4 separate regions of the Homo sapiens genome follow, and regions 2, 3 and 4 are each linked to region 1. Evidence: promoter capture Hi-C in 16 types of primary human blood cells and fetal thymus (Javierre and others, 2016). All regions are on one chromosome and are shown on one strand. Each heading gives the region's core, a stretch centred on a gene start or on the middle of the fragment in contact. The rest is flanking DNA. Distances are from core to core; before and after follow the strand shown.

Region 1 (3,524 bases), core at 695-3,194:
GCTTTGAGCATATTAGCTAATTCTCACAGCACCCTGTAGTACTATACCTATAGGGATGATAAGGGGATGTGGGTGGTGGGGAGGGGGCAGATAAAAAGAACAGTAAATTTCCTAAGTTTAAACTGGAAGAATAGGGATTTCATCCTGGTTCACCTGAGTACAAAGTCTAAGGTTCAATGATTCCTTGACACTGGGTAGCAAGGGAGCATTTCAGGGATGCCTAAGCTTGTGGTCAGGTGCCAACGGTACAAAGATAGAAGTATATCAGAGAGCCCTTGCAGAATAAGGCCCTCCACAGGAGGGTTGTGACCTTGGTACTTGCCTCACTGTGTTTAAATTCAGGTAAGGTAAGAGAATTGAAGAGGTAAAGCTACCTTAGAGAGTATTGCTGCATCTACCCTGGTGACTTACAAGGTACTTGAATTTTTTTTTTTCTAGCAAACTGCTAAAGTTAGCCTTTGCCTTTTTCCCAGAGACTCTCTAGGAATTTTTCCCATCTGCTGACTAGGAGGTAAGCCCGGACCTAAATTTTTGTCTTGTTGTAGGTTAATTAAGACTGGTGTTAGATTCAGCTCCTAAGGCCTAAGAGAATTTAAGGTTGTCTTCTGGGAAGGACACCCAACAGCAGCATTGGAATTGGAAAAAAAGTGTAGGATTTTGCTGAGTGAGCAGGGGGAAAGCAATGTAAAGCCCAAGAGAATATCTTTTGAACAAACGTCCTTTTCATTTTGGTTTAGAAATAGAAACGTGGTAAAAGGAGGCGACTGTTTTCTGAAGGCTTGTAGCACGAAAACAGGCCAACTGGCCAGCAACTAGTTGTCTATCAGTTTCTCTACTCACATACATCTGCCTTTTCCAGACTGCCAGCGCGGAGCACTAGTTTGACTTTGGGTGCTCTTCAAATAGCTGGCATTGATAAGGCATTCCCAGAAGACTGTGTTACTTAGTAATCTTGTCGGTACATTTTTTCACTGGGCAGAGATTTTCCAAACAGAGAGCTGCCAGCTTTCAAGACGTCAGAGTGCTTTTTCATCCTGAAATTGGGTGGGAAAATGGGGAGAAGAAAAGCACGGTTCAGATCAATCAATGAGAGAGAACCCCTCCCTCCATACTCGTTAAACAACAGGTGGTTTTGCTGTGCACCGTCAACTCCTTTATGCGGGAGCTGTAGGCGGGGCATTCCAACTGAGTCTCCCTGGAATCTGCCCCTTAGCCCGTATTGCAGGGGCGGTGCAGTTGGGGATTCCGGCCTGAAAGGAGACTTGGTTGTCAAGGGGCTCAAGGGCTTCATGATCCAAGGATATTGGGTTTTGCTTTTCTCCTTCTCCATCTTCCTCATTCTATCCCACCGTCCCCTCCCCACCCTTCTCTTAGGAGGCCTTCGCTTCTCCTGTGGAGGGGTTATCTTCATCCTGACCCTGGCCTTCGGAGGAGTTCCCAGAAGGGCTATTTTTAGTGGTGGCTGCTCCCCTCTAACTTACCCAGGGGAGGAGCTGCGGTGGCTGAGCCGACGCTGCGCGCACAGCCGCCTGTGGTTTTCCGCGCATTGTGAGGGATGAGGGGTGGAGGTGGTATTAGACGCAGCCGAATCCTCCCTCAGAGTCCGCCAGGTGGGCGTCTCAGGGGTGGGAGTGGCCGCGTCGTGAAGCGGAGAGAGGATTTCTCTCCTGGTCCTGGAGAAGGCCCCCGGCGGCCGGCGGCATCCCTCGCTGGCGAGTCCCGGGAGCGAGGTGGTCTCTGCAGGGGAGGAAGTTCCCGGGCGGCGCGGCCTGCGTCACAGCGGGGCTGGCACCGCGGAGTCGACTCGGCGGGCGGTGGCGACCCCGGGGCCGGGCGCTGGGCGGCGCTGGCTGCCGCTAGCCGGGCTGCGTGCGGGGCGGCGCTGGAGGCGGCTCCGTCCGCGGCCGGGGAGGCGGAGGGGAGGAGGGCTTGCGGGGCTGGGGCGTTAGCTGCGTCCCGGCTGGAAGCCCGCGAAGAGAAGTAGGAGGAAGGCGCCGCCGTGGCCGCGGCCGCAGTGCTCGGGCGCGACAAGCCATGAGCAGCGACCCCGCGGGCGACGCCGCCGTCCCTGGCAGCCGCTGAGCCCGACCCCCAGGCAGCTCGCCGCTCCCTAGCACCTTCTCCAGTCGACACTCTCGCGCCCGGAGGTAAGGGCGGGGGATCCGCGGAGGGATGGAGAGGGGCAGCCCGCAGAGGGCCACCCGCTCGGTCCGCTGTGCGCGCCGGACCGGGACTCGCCCCGCCTCACTCGCGTCCTTGCTTCCCCCCGGCTCTCAGACAGGCAGAATGTGGTTGCCCGCCCGGCGTGTGGTGCTGGGAACCTTCCGCTACTGCGGCTCAGGAGCCCGCCAACCCCTACCCCACCCAATCCGCGCTAGCCCGAGCGGCCGCGCGAGGATCTCAGCCTGGCGCCCAACGCCGCGCCGCAGCGGCAGGTCCTGCAGACTGGGCGCGGGGGTGGGGGGGCGGTCCGCGAGGGGAAATGCGTCCGTGGCCGGGGCGATCGTTGTTCTTTCCTACCTCGAAAATCTCTGAGACCCCGGGGCCAGTCCTTTCCGGTCTATCACCCCCCTGCCACCTCCGAACCCTTGAAGTTAGCACTTTTGGGCAGGGAAAGGAATTGGAAGGTTTCTCGAAGAAACGTGAGAGCACCGTGTGCTCACCTGCAGGACAGGAGGGAAGGGGTTCAGCTTGATCGGGCGGGCCCCAGAAGCCAGGTGTTTAGGCCAGCGGTTGAGGCCAAAACCGCTGCCTTCATCCCACGCCTAGGCTCGCTGATCTTTCCCTTTCCAGCTGGTTCCCACCAATGAGATGATTAGGGATGGAGTTAGCAACTCAGGAGCCTTAGATGTGTTCTGTGGACACGAATGCCTTTCTTTTCTCCCTCAGCCGGTTCTTCCCTCCCCAACCCCCACGCCTGCCCGGTATACAGCAAAGTCCAAACAGTTTCTTCCAAACCTCGCATCCTCCGTAGTTTTGCAACAGCCGGACACCTAGCCCGCATCCTAATGCGGATATTTCAGAGTATTACGGCTAAACTTCCCTTGGTTTCAAATTCCTTAAACATGTTAAAGCCTCAGCAAACGTTAGGAAACATTTTCAGGTTCCCATCCTCAAAGTAAAAAATAAGAACCAATCCATCTTTGTTGGAGTGCCGGTGTTTGGCACGGGGAGGCTTGAATTACCTCCATTTAAAGCAGCCTTTGAAGGAAGGAATAGGTAAAGGAAATCGCAGCCGTTTGTAAGTCACATACTTCTTTCGCGGTAGTGTGAGAAACGTAGCCTTAACCAACAGTCACATTTCCCGACAGGTATGTGATGGTTTCCCAAAGCATCGATGAGGCTTCAGCGTGGGCAGGTCATTAAGATGCCATTTAGACGAAAAAGGAGTAAAAGTGGAGTAGTCCTCTTGGTTAGCACAATGCTGCAAAATCGCCAGAGCCAATAATTTTTATACATTTATAAATTCTGTTTATTTTTAAATAATTTGTTGAAAACCCAAAACGTAATCTGAGCTGCATAAA
Region 2 (3,400 bases), core at 593-3,092, 330 kb after region 1:
TTGATCCTCACTCTTCTTGTCAGCTTCTCTGAAGTTACTAGCCCTGGACAACCCCTTGTGGTTTCCCGGCACTCCGGTCAGTTTCCTGTTGGAACACTAACCAAAACACTGCCAGTGCATAAGTGACATAAAGCAGGATCCAAAGGACCTGGACTGAGAACAACAGGATGAATCTGACAAGAGGGTATTTAATGAAAAGTATAGATGAAGATGTGGTTACTACACTATTTGAAGCTTTGATTATTGACCGTGAATCAAGAGTTCGGACGATGCACTGCCTCCAAAATAAAATTCTAACTTTATACTGTTCCAAATAGAAAAGTGTTTGCATTCTCTTCCTGTGGTTAGACCACTCTTAGAGTACTGTGTTCAGCTATAAATAACACATGAAAAAGTTATCTGTGTCAAATTACTGTAGATTTTAATGCATCCATTTTACTTCCAGCCCCATCTCTTGGGTACTCAAACATGAGCAAATGGGGGCTATGAAATCAGATAATTTGATAGGTAGACATGGAGCTATTTTAAAAATTGCCTTTCCCTTCCAATTCTTGAGACACTGTTTTTGAACCAAATTGTCACTTCCATTAGAGTAAATTATTTCCCAAGGGACTTCTAGAATCTTTATACACATAGACTTAGTGACTCACCCCACAGTCTTGAAATAAACCCAAACCTATGCACACATTTTAGACTGAAGCCTGATGCACATGAAAGAACTATCCAATAAATAGATTACATCAGAAATTGTCTTATAGGCCTAGTTTTAAGTGTATGGCAAAATTCAAGTTGAGATCAAATAAACAATATCCGAATGTTCATGCTAGAAGTGCCTTTAATATCATTTAATACAAGTCTCTGGTTTTGTAAGTAGGAAGAATGAGGCTGTCTTGCTTAAATTCACGAAGCTAACTGGTGGTAGAACCTAGACAAAAATCTCAGTTTTTTTGCATCTATTCACTGTGCTACATTGCCTCCCTAATAAAATCACACTTCTAAACACCAATTTGGAGGGAACTTGGCAAGTCTTACTATTTTCTCAATGTTTGTTGGCTATCTACAGTGTGATGACACTACCACATTTCCAAGACATTTATATACCTTATTTGAAGCTGAAAAACAGTATTTGTAATGTTTAACTGAGAGATTTTTAAAAAGTTTTCTTGATTTTTCTTACCTATTCATTGCAAAAACATTTATTGAGAAGCTATTATGTGCTAGGCAATGTCCAAAGTACTAAGCAGTGAACAAAGATTAAAAAAAAAAAATCCTTGGCCAGGCATGGTGGCTCACGACTGTAATCCCAGCATTCTGGGAGACCAAGGTGGGTGGATCACGAGGTCAGGAGCTCGAGACCAACCTGGTCAACATAGTGAAACCCCATCTCTACTAAACTACAAAGAAATTAGCTGGGCGTGGTGGCGGGCACCTGTAATCCCAGCTATTTGGGAGGCTGAGGCAAGGAGAATTGCCTGAACCTGGGAGGCGGAGGTTGCAGTGAGCTGAGATCACACCACTGCACTCCAGCCTCGGCAACAGTGTAAGACTGTCTCGAAAAAAAAAAAAAAAATCCTTGCCTTCATAGAACTTACCTTGTAATTCTTATGTTTATATTTGGGGTAGACTTCAAGGGAATTGAGAGAATTCTTGCCCTACTTTTGTGATAGCCAGCATCTAAGATGGCCTCCAGTGATCCTTGCCTCCTGGTGACCACATCCCTGTATAATGCCCTCCCATGCTGCCCATGCATTCTGCATAAGCAACAGAATACTGTAGAAGTGACAGTATGTGACTTTGAGTTTTAGTCTTAAAAAGCACTGCAGCTGTCTTTGCTGTTCTTGCATCACTTCCTTGGGGAAAAGGACCCTCAAACAGCCCTACAGAAGCCACAAGCTGGGAGGAACTGGGATCTCCTGTTAGCAGTCAGCACTCTCCAGCATGTGCATGAGTTGTCCTCCAGCCTCTGTCAAGCCTTCAGATGACCGCAGCCCTAGCTAACATCTTGACTGCAGCCTCATGAGAGACTCCAAGCGAAAACTATCAGCTAGGTTGTTTCAAAATTCCTGAACCTCAGCGACTGTGAGAAATAGTAATGTCCATCATTCTTTTTCTTTCTTTTCTTTTTCTTTTTCTTTTTTTTTTTTTGAGACAGAGTCTCGCTCTGTCACCCAGGCTGGAGTGCAGTGGTGAGATCTCAGCTCACTGTAGCCTCTGCCTCCCGTTTCAAGTGATTCTCCTGTCTCGGCCTCCTGAGTAGCTGGGATTACAGGCACAGACCACCACACCCAGCTAATTTATGTATTTTTAGTAGAGACAGGGTTTTACCATGTTGGCCAGACTGGTCTCGAACTCCTGACCTCAAGTGATCCGCCCACCTTGGCCTCCCAAAGTGTTGGGATTACAACCGTGAGCCACCACGCCCAGCTGTCCATCATTCTTTTACACTACTGAGATTTAGGGTAATTTGTTATGTGGCAGTAGATAATTGACATACCCCATGAGTTTTAGGAAGGTTCCCTACAGAAGAACCATCTGAGAAGCACCTCAATATTAAAAATGGAAAAGGAAGCAACATTTTCCAGCACTTATGAGTTACAAGAAAAGAGAATCAACTCAGTGGAAAATATACATAAAGACCTTGGACGTTCCAAACCCATCATTTCTAATCAAGAGTTCTGTTTTTGGTGCCATCAGAAATTTGGGGCTTTAAAATGTGAGTAGGAAAAGTATAATGGTGGCAGGCGCCTGTAGTTCCAGCTACTCGGGAGGCTGAGGCAGGAGAATGGTGTGAACCCGGGAGGCGGAGCTTGCAGTGAGCCGAGATGGCACCACTGCACTCCAGCCTGGGCGACAGAGTGAGACTCGGTCTCAAAAAAAAAAAAAAAAAAAAAAAAAGTGATACACTTTTATTACATTGGAGAGAGGAAGAGACCCACAGGTGAGGAAAAGACAATCTTCCCAACTCTAATAAAGAAAGCTACTGAAATTAACCTAGGGTGGTTAAATTCAGCAGTGGGCCATGGCAACGGAAAACATTGCAAAAAGTACAACAACTCAGCAGGACTATTTGCCAATAATTTATTTTCATCAAGAAAAGAAAAACATATCCTTGGTAACCTGCCAATTCTCAACAAGCTAATTCACGTCAAGTCTTTCTCTGGGAAAAGAGATAATTAAATCTTTTGAAATCTTTGCTCCCTAACTACAGTGGTCATTAGGGCTGTTCACAAACATTCTTGTTCTCTTTCCTTCCTGACATATGGTGGATCGTAATTTCCCCCATACTTGGAGGCACTGCCATGTGACTTGGCCAATGAAATGTATGTGGAAGCTGTAAAAGTCAAGATGCTTCACCATCTTATCTTTTTGTTGTCATGGCAACCAGCAATATTCCTATAGT
Region 3 (3,654 bases), core at 735-3,234, 300 kb after region 1:
CTACTGAATGTTTACAAATTGCTTGCCTGCTAAAGTAAATGATTAAATTGACATTTTCTTACTATATCACCTTTTTTGAGGGGTCTTAATTTACTTTGCTTAATTGGTGCAATATTGCTTTAACTCCGTTCACTAAAGACAAACACATCAAGTCCAAACTTGTAAATTTAGATTTGCTGAAATACTGATTTATTTCCTGTTTTAATTTAAAGTGCCTCAAGTAAGCACCTCTCACAACAGTTGACTGGTACTGCTGCTCCTGAGCACCTCGTGTCATAGATTTTATACTCTTACAGACTTGGAATGCAGTAGAGGTATGTGGATTTTTAGGGGTTTTGTTTTTTTAAGAATAAGTAACAAGAAATAACACATTTCTTAATAATAGCTTTTTTGACATAGTTTGGAGTTCTGATTATATGGTACATTTTTCTACCAGTAATATAGGGTTGCCAATAAATAGAAAATGTTTTCTAAAAATAAATTTTATTACAACAAAATAAAAATTTTAATGACTTATTAACACAACCTCCAGTATCACCACCATTTGGAAGATAACACAGAATCACAAGTATCATTTAATTTCTTGCCCTTTTCAGTGTTGTTCTGGTGTTGGTGGGAAAATAATAGGAAATGTAGTTCATTGGGTAGGGAAACTCTTACCTTTCCCTATCTTAATGACAAGCTGTATTTTCTGTGTTTTTGTGCAGCTAGGCGTCATAGCCAGACAAATCCTAGGAGAATACACTTTTTAGATAATGATTTCCTTCATTATCTAACTGACCAGTATCTAATCAATCTCAGAAAAATCCAAAAAATTCCCTGCCACCTGTTTAGATATTAGTTGGCAGATGTTTCATAGGCCTTCTACAGGACTCTTCAAGAGAATAGAACAGTTTGGCACTCTGACAAAGTAGTGTCCTCTCGCTACAAAACTGGACTCACTTAAACACTGGACTTTTGTCACTTCTAAGCACAGCTTGAAGGATTTTGCTGATAATGGGCAAAGATGGACTCATATCTTTGCTTTCCTCCCCAGAACTGAACTCTGGGAGTCCTGGTCTGTGGCCAATGGAGGTGAATCTTTGCCTGCCATAGAGCCTGTGAATGCTCTGAGAAGTATTATCACAAATAGAAAAGGCTGCATCCCCTGTAGCTGAGTCAGGAATTGACGCTGGCTCTGGCACCCTGGCCATTCCTTCTCCTCCTCAAAGGCTTGAGGTAGGGGACTAGCTTATTAAACATTTTTAAGCTTAAGTTTGAATAATCAGACAAAAAGCAGTGGCATATTTTCAGTACAGCAAATTCTTTTCTATGCATCTTCCAGTTGTCTCAGCATTCATTAATGTATTCACTAGTGTTAATGATGTACCCTGGTGCCTATCTAATACAAGGAAGTAGGGATTCAGTGTTGGAATAAGTTCTGGCTACATGGAGGTTTATATAGCAAAGTAGAGAGATAAATATTAATTATGTAAATAATAGAAGTGTTTAATTACAATTATAGATGGTGTAGGTCAGGTGCAGTGGCTCACACCTATAATCCCAGCACTTTGAGAGGCTGAGGCAGGAGGATGGCTTGAGCCTGGGAGTTTGAGACCAGCCTGGGCAACATAGCAAGACCCCATCTCTACAAAAAATTTTAAAAATTAGCTGGGCATGTTAGCATGCACTTGTAGTCCCAGCTACTTGGGAGGCTGAGGTGGGAGGATCACTTGGGCTCAGGAGTATGAGGCTGCAGTGAGTTATGATTGTGCCATTGTACTCCAACCTGGTGACAGAGCAAGACCTTGCCTCAAACAAACAAAAAGTGTACAAAATCTGTGTAAATGAATAATGGCAGGGGTGGAGTGAACTTAAAGAAGAGCTTCAGGGAAGTTTTGTAGTTGTAAACGGTCCTGAACATTTCCCTTCCACCAGCCTTGTAGGGCACTGTTCTCCCTGCTTGGTAATGCCACCACCTGAAATTAGCACAGTATTTTTAGAAGGATGCCACTCCATCTTAGTTGTGAGATAAGGAGTCCAGATCTTAGGATCTTTGCTTTTAGGACTGGAAAACTTGTCTTCCCTTTTTTAAACAAAACAAAACAAAACACCTTATTGAAGTATAATTGGCATATAGAAGGCCCTACATCTGTAAGGCCTTTACATATGTACCTTAAATATGGTAGCAAACTACATCTCAATGAGCTGCCTTTCTTAAAACAAGTGTATGTTGTTTTTGAAGGGCAGGGGTGGCAGGATGCCACAGTTCACTTTGCTTTTCAGAGAAGAGCCATTCTGTAGGAACCACAATCTATGAGATAATCCCTAAGTTTGGCCACTGGCAGCCCTGCCCATAGGCTCCTGTTTCCTAAACACTACTTGGGGTTCAGTCACTTAGAACTGGTTGGTGTTAGATGCCTTCAAACAGTATCAAGGGGTACCTCTTTTACCCAAATTTCTGTTGACTATCAGCCCTTACTAATTTCCTTGAACTCTGAAAAGTTCACGGTCAGTTGGTTTAAATGTCACATTCCATACCACTGTTTGCAAATAGGAATACTCAGAGAGTTCCTGAGAAATGCTGACTCATGCAACAGACTTTAAATATACTGGGTTTTGACACCTCAACAACAGAAAAAGAGTTGTGGGCCCAAATAGACTGTCAACCTATGTGTCCTCGTGAATTTATGTTGGCATCGCATGGACCAGACATGGGAGAAAAACAAGTTAGTATGTATAAGCTTTGGCTTAATATTTTCATATCTTTCTACGAAGTCCGTTGAGCACCAATCTGAAGAAGAGTATTTAAAGTCTGTTTTTAAATATGCCATGTCTGGGTGAGTCTCTCAAAGTCTGAAAGAACTTGGTTTCCTTGTGGCTGTTTAATTTTTTCTCACTAGCAGTTAGTTGGCGTGACAGGATTGGCTCTTTCAAGGGTTCAGAAAGATGAGCCAAAATTGTCACAGGGACCTCATTCTTAGTAGTACAGATTTAGTAATTTAATAGTAGGCAGGAAGAGTTCATTCTATAATTCATGGCCAGCAAAGTCCTGACTGTTTGACATTTTTTTAATATAAAGAAAGAAAGCATATTCTTTCTTAATCCGTAATACTTTCTCTGTCTCCCCTGGTCTCTACTTCAACCAGTAACCAAAACTCTATAAGTTGCTGATGGCAGCAAACTCCAAAGTGCCCTTGAGGCCAACGCCCAATAGTTATTTCCATTCACCTTGTTGAATAAAAGCCAGAGTGCTGTCCTCTCGCTAAGATTTCTGCCAGCACTTGCGTCAGTAATTCATTCCAATAAAATGGTCCCTTTATCAACTGAATCCCCAAACAAAGGCTGTACTAACAAAAAGCTCCTTTCATGAAAAAAAGAAGGGGGGAAAAAAGAGCAAGCCCCTGGAAACCAGTTTTCAAAAGTCCTCTAACTTGTGACTGCAACACGAAGAAGTGGCCCCCTCTGATCCTGGCCAGCTGCGGCTCTCTTAAAGGCTCCGGGTATTCAAGGCGGTATCCACTGGGGCACAGGGAAGGCTGAAGCCAAGGGGGCAGAAGGGCAGCAGGCCAGGAACCATCTGCCTCTCAGGCCTGGCCTAGCCTATCCTGGGGTGACAGTCACAGCTGAAATCATGGAAATAAGTCCCTTCACTCACAAAGCCAATAGCAGATG
Region 4 (3,404 bases), core at 550-3,049, 380 kb after region 1:
TTTTTTAAAATTCCATACTTTTTGGTAATTTTTTCATGTTTATATACAGAAACTACATAACAATTATGATTGTAGAAGTTAGATCTGTAAATCCCCTATTGCAGTTAATAATTGGTCATGAATACCCAAAGATACTTTTAAAATGTACATAACCTGGTCCATTCCTTTTTCCTGAATCCTTGTGGTTGTGTATCAAACCCTCTACAGCTGAGAAAACAGGCACAGAATAGATAAATAATTTGCTGCCTAAGTCAAACAACCAGTGAATGGTAATGCCAGTATTTATTCCAGAGCAAGTCATGCTCTAGAAGTCCTGTTCTTAAACCTCCATATGATTGTAACAGAAATTTGCTTTGTATTCATTTTTCCCTTTTATTTTAAAATAACTTTTTCCCTAATTATGACATTATAGACATTTTAATATGTAATATTTGAAAAAACTGAAATTGCAATGTTAGATTCTTTCCTCAAAATATATTTTCTATAATATAAAATTTGAAAAAGGTTTAAAAGGTGTACTTAAATTACTTTCTCATCAGGCCTTATTGTTTAATAAGAAACAATATTCTGGAATTTCTGGAGTTCTGGAAACCTGATACTAAGCAGAGTATGTGTTGTGGGGATACCTTTAACAGTGTGTCAATTGATAGACTGTTATGTATCAAATTTGACATTTTATTAGACATTACTATAATAGAAAATTCAGTTGATTCTCTTGGGACCTATTTCAAAGATATATTTTGCACGTATGGTTAAATATTGCAAAAGTTTGATAAAGAAACTGATTTGCCCTTAAAGCAGATATATATGTATCCCTCCCCCATACCCCCTTTTTATATAACAAAACTTGAGAAAAGTGTTGTGTAGCTAAGAATGAAACTAAAATTCTTTAAATTATGCCTTCTCTGTCAGGTGTAAAATGGGCATTTAAAAAGATGATTGCTGAATTTTCCTCAATACAAGGTCTTGCTATGCTATAGTATAGACTATGTGACTTTATAGAAAATTAGTAGGAAAGGAACCCTATTCTGTCACTTGGCTAGAAGTACAACATGTCATAGTTTTAGCATATGAAAGGAAGATTAAATTACTTATTTGAGGTAATATATAAATAAGTAGATTTTTCAAAGGCCATCCAAAAGGATAAGCAGTGCATAAAAGGAAAAATTTAAGGGCAAATAGTTAAGTTTTTTTTTTTTTTTTTTTTTTAAGTATAAAGTTAAATGTATTATAAGAAAGAACCTGCTCACAGTGAGTTACCACTCCATACCCACTTGGATGGTCATAATAAAAAAAGGAAAATAACAAATGTTGACAAGGATATGGAGAAATTGAAACCCTCACACATTACTGATGGGAATGTAAAGCAGTGAAGCCACTGTGGGAAGCAGATTGGTGCTTCCTGAAACAATTAAACATAGACTGTCCATATGATCCAGCAATTCCACTTCTAGGTATTCTTCTATTCCAAAGAATTTAAAGTAGTATTCCAACAAAAATTTATTTATTTATTTATTTTTATTTTTGAGACAGGATCTTACTCTGTTGCCCAGGCTGGAGTGCAGTGGTGCAGTCTTGGCTCACTGCAACCTCTGCCCCTGGGTTCAAGCGATTCTCGTTCCTCAGCCTCCTGAGTAGCTGGGACTACAGATGTGCACCACCACGCCCAGCTAATTGTTGTATCTTGAGTAGAGATGGTTTCGCCATGTTGGCCAGGCTGTCTTGAACCCCTGGCCTCAAGTGATCCATCCGCCTCAGCCTTCCAAAGTGCTAAGATTACAGGCATGAGCCACTGTGCCTGGTCCAAACAAAAATTTATATATGAATGTTTATAGTAGCATTATTCATAATTGCCAAAAGGTAGAAACAATTGAAATATACATCAACAGAAGAATGGTTTAAAAAATGTGGGTTATTCATACAATGGAATATTATTAAACCATAAAAAAGGAAGTACTTACTAATACATGGTACAACATGGGTGAACTGTGAAAACATGCTAAATAAAAGTCAGACCAAAAAGGCAACAGACAGGATGATTCTAGGTATATGAAATACTTAGAATAGGCAAATCCGTAGATCAGAAAGCAGATTAGTGGTTACCAGGGCCTTAGGGTAGGGTTGAAATGGGGAGTGACTGCTTTATGGGATGATGAACAGTTCTGTAACTAGATAGTGGAGATGGTTGCGTAACTTTGTGAATGTACTTAATGCCATTGAATTGCACATTTTAAAATGGTTAAACTAGTAAATCTTATGTTTTGTGTATTTTATCACAATAGAGAATATTTTTTAAAAAAGAGAACAAATTTGCTTTTATTTTGGAGGTTACAAATTTTAAGAAACTTTCTGAGAGCTCCTACAATATGAACATGAGTTCTTGCATCCAGGGCTCTGCAGTGTTTACTGGACTTCCATTTTCATGCTCGGTCAGGTTACTTTAGTGTTTTTCCCAAAGTATGTGATGCCCAAGATGATTTTAGGTGATAAGGATATTATTGCTTAGAATAAGGATAGGACAAATGAGCACATTTAAAGAAAAATATGTAGCAAATAATCACATAGATGACAAGCAGATATGACAGAATTCATGATGATGGTATTCAAATGAATGAAGTTCATTTAGTGAAGTTTCAGAAATACTGGATAGTCTCAAACTCCGATTTTTTTGGTGAGTTCAATTTTAGATTACAATCACTAAGTATACCTCATAAGTATGTACTTTACGAACTGATGATTGGAAAGAGAGAATGGAAAAATGAATTTTAGCTTTTACTTTTTTGTGTAATATCCTAGCAAAAACTGATCCTAAAAATGAAGAGGAAGAAAAGCGGCGAATTGAGGCTCGGCGAGAGAAACAAAGGCGCAGAAGAGAAAAAAACAGTGAGAAATACGGAGATGGATACAGGTTTGTACTTAGAGTCAGAAAATTAGGTTCATTAAAAAATGATTTCCTAGAAAAAGCCAACACATCAATTGTAATATTAAAAAGTTCTTAAGATTCAAATGAAAAGACTTGTTCAAAGATACAGAGGAATGCTTTTGGTTTTTGATATTTATATGTAATCACTACTTAGAAAACATAAGAAAAAAGGCATTCTATTCATATTGGCAATCCAAAAGATATCAAATATTCAGAAATAACAGTATTCTTAAAAAGAAACACTTGTCATTGAGATTTGACTGTATGGAGTCATAGTGATTTTCATGGGCAGGAATTAAATATTACAAATATGTAAGTTCTTTCCAATCCAGATCCCAAAGGAAATTCTGAAGAAGAGTAAATGAGTAGGTACTGGCTTTTATAGATAATCAATCATTAAAAAGCTATAATAGTTAAAAATATGTGGTAATACACAAAGCTAATTATTATACCAGATTAGCCTGTGAACAGACTGTAAGGA

What was found. Contacts are between HindIII fragments. The CHiCAGO score rates a contact against its expected background, and 5 or more counts as called.
Region 2: a fragment that was not itself captured here is called in contact with the fragment with the promoter of LRRC8C in region 1 in 14 of 17 cell types (erythroblasts, megakaryocytes, naive CD4 T cells and 11 more); the score reaches 11.6 in erythroblasts.
Region 3: a contact is called between a fragment that was not itself captured here and the fragment with the promoter of LRRC8C in region 1, in 1 of 17 cell types (M0 macrophages). The highest score is 5.3, in M0 macrophages.
Region 4: a fragment that was not itself captured here is called in contact with the fragment with the promoter of LRRC8C in region 1 in 1 of 17 cell types (erythroblasts); the score reaches 6.1 in erythroblasts.

What each region holds. Positions count from the first base shown.
Region 1 is chr1:89,631,176-89,634,699 of GRCh38, forward strand. LRRC8C (leucine rich repeat containing 8 VRAC subunit C) reads left to right here and starts at 1,945. Exons shown (of 3, transcript NM_032270.5): 1 at 1,945-2,147. LRRC8C-DT (LRRC8C divergent transcript) reads right to left here and starts at 1,719. Exons shown (of 3, transcript NR_033981.1): 1 at 1,482-1,719; 2 at 841-1,034. RefSeq lists a silencer at 1,747-2,406 and enhancers at 2,787-2,836, 2,867-2,916. The HindIII fragment of the contact is 6,667 bases long and covers 224-3,524 here.
Region 2 is chr1:89,962,233-89,965,632 of GRCh38, forward strand. It overlaps LOC105378847 (a long non-coding RNA gene), which reads left to right and starts at 2,925. Exons shown (of 3, transcript XR_001738142.2): 1 at 2,925-3,400. The HindIII fragment of the contact is 3,221 bases long and covers 233-3,400 here.
Region 3 is chr1:89,935,936-89,939,589 of GRCh38, forward strand. It overlaps LRRC8D (leucine rich repeat containing 8 VRAC subunit D), which reads left to right. Exons shown (of 3, transcript NM_001134479.2): 3 at 1-676. Among named protein-coding and RNA genes, the nearest start is that of ZNF326, 57 kb to the right of the region's middle. The HindIII fragment of the contact is 1,474 bases long and covers 1,248-2,721 here.
Region 4 is chr1:90,010,330-90,013,733 of GRCh38, forward strand. ZNF326 (zinc finger protein 326) reads left to right here. Exons shown (of 12, transcript NM_182976.4): 7 at 2,797-2,908. Among named protein-coding and RNA genes, the nearest start is that of ZNF326, 17 kb to the left of the region's middle. The HindIII fragment of the contact is 9,650 bases long and covers 1-3,404 here.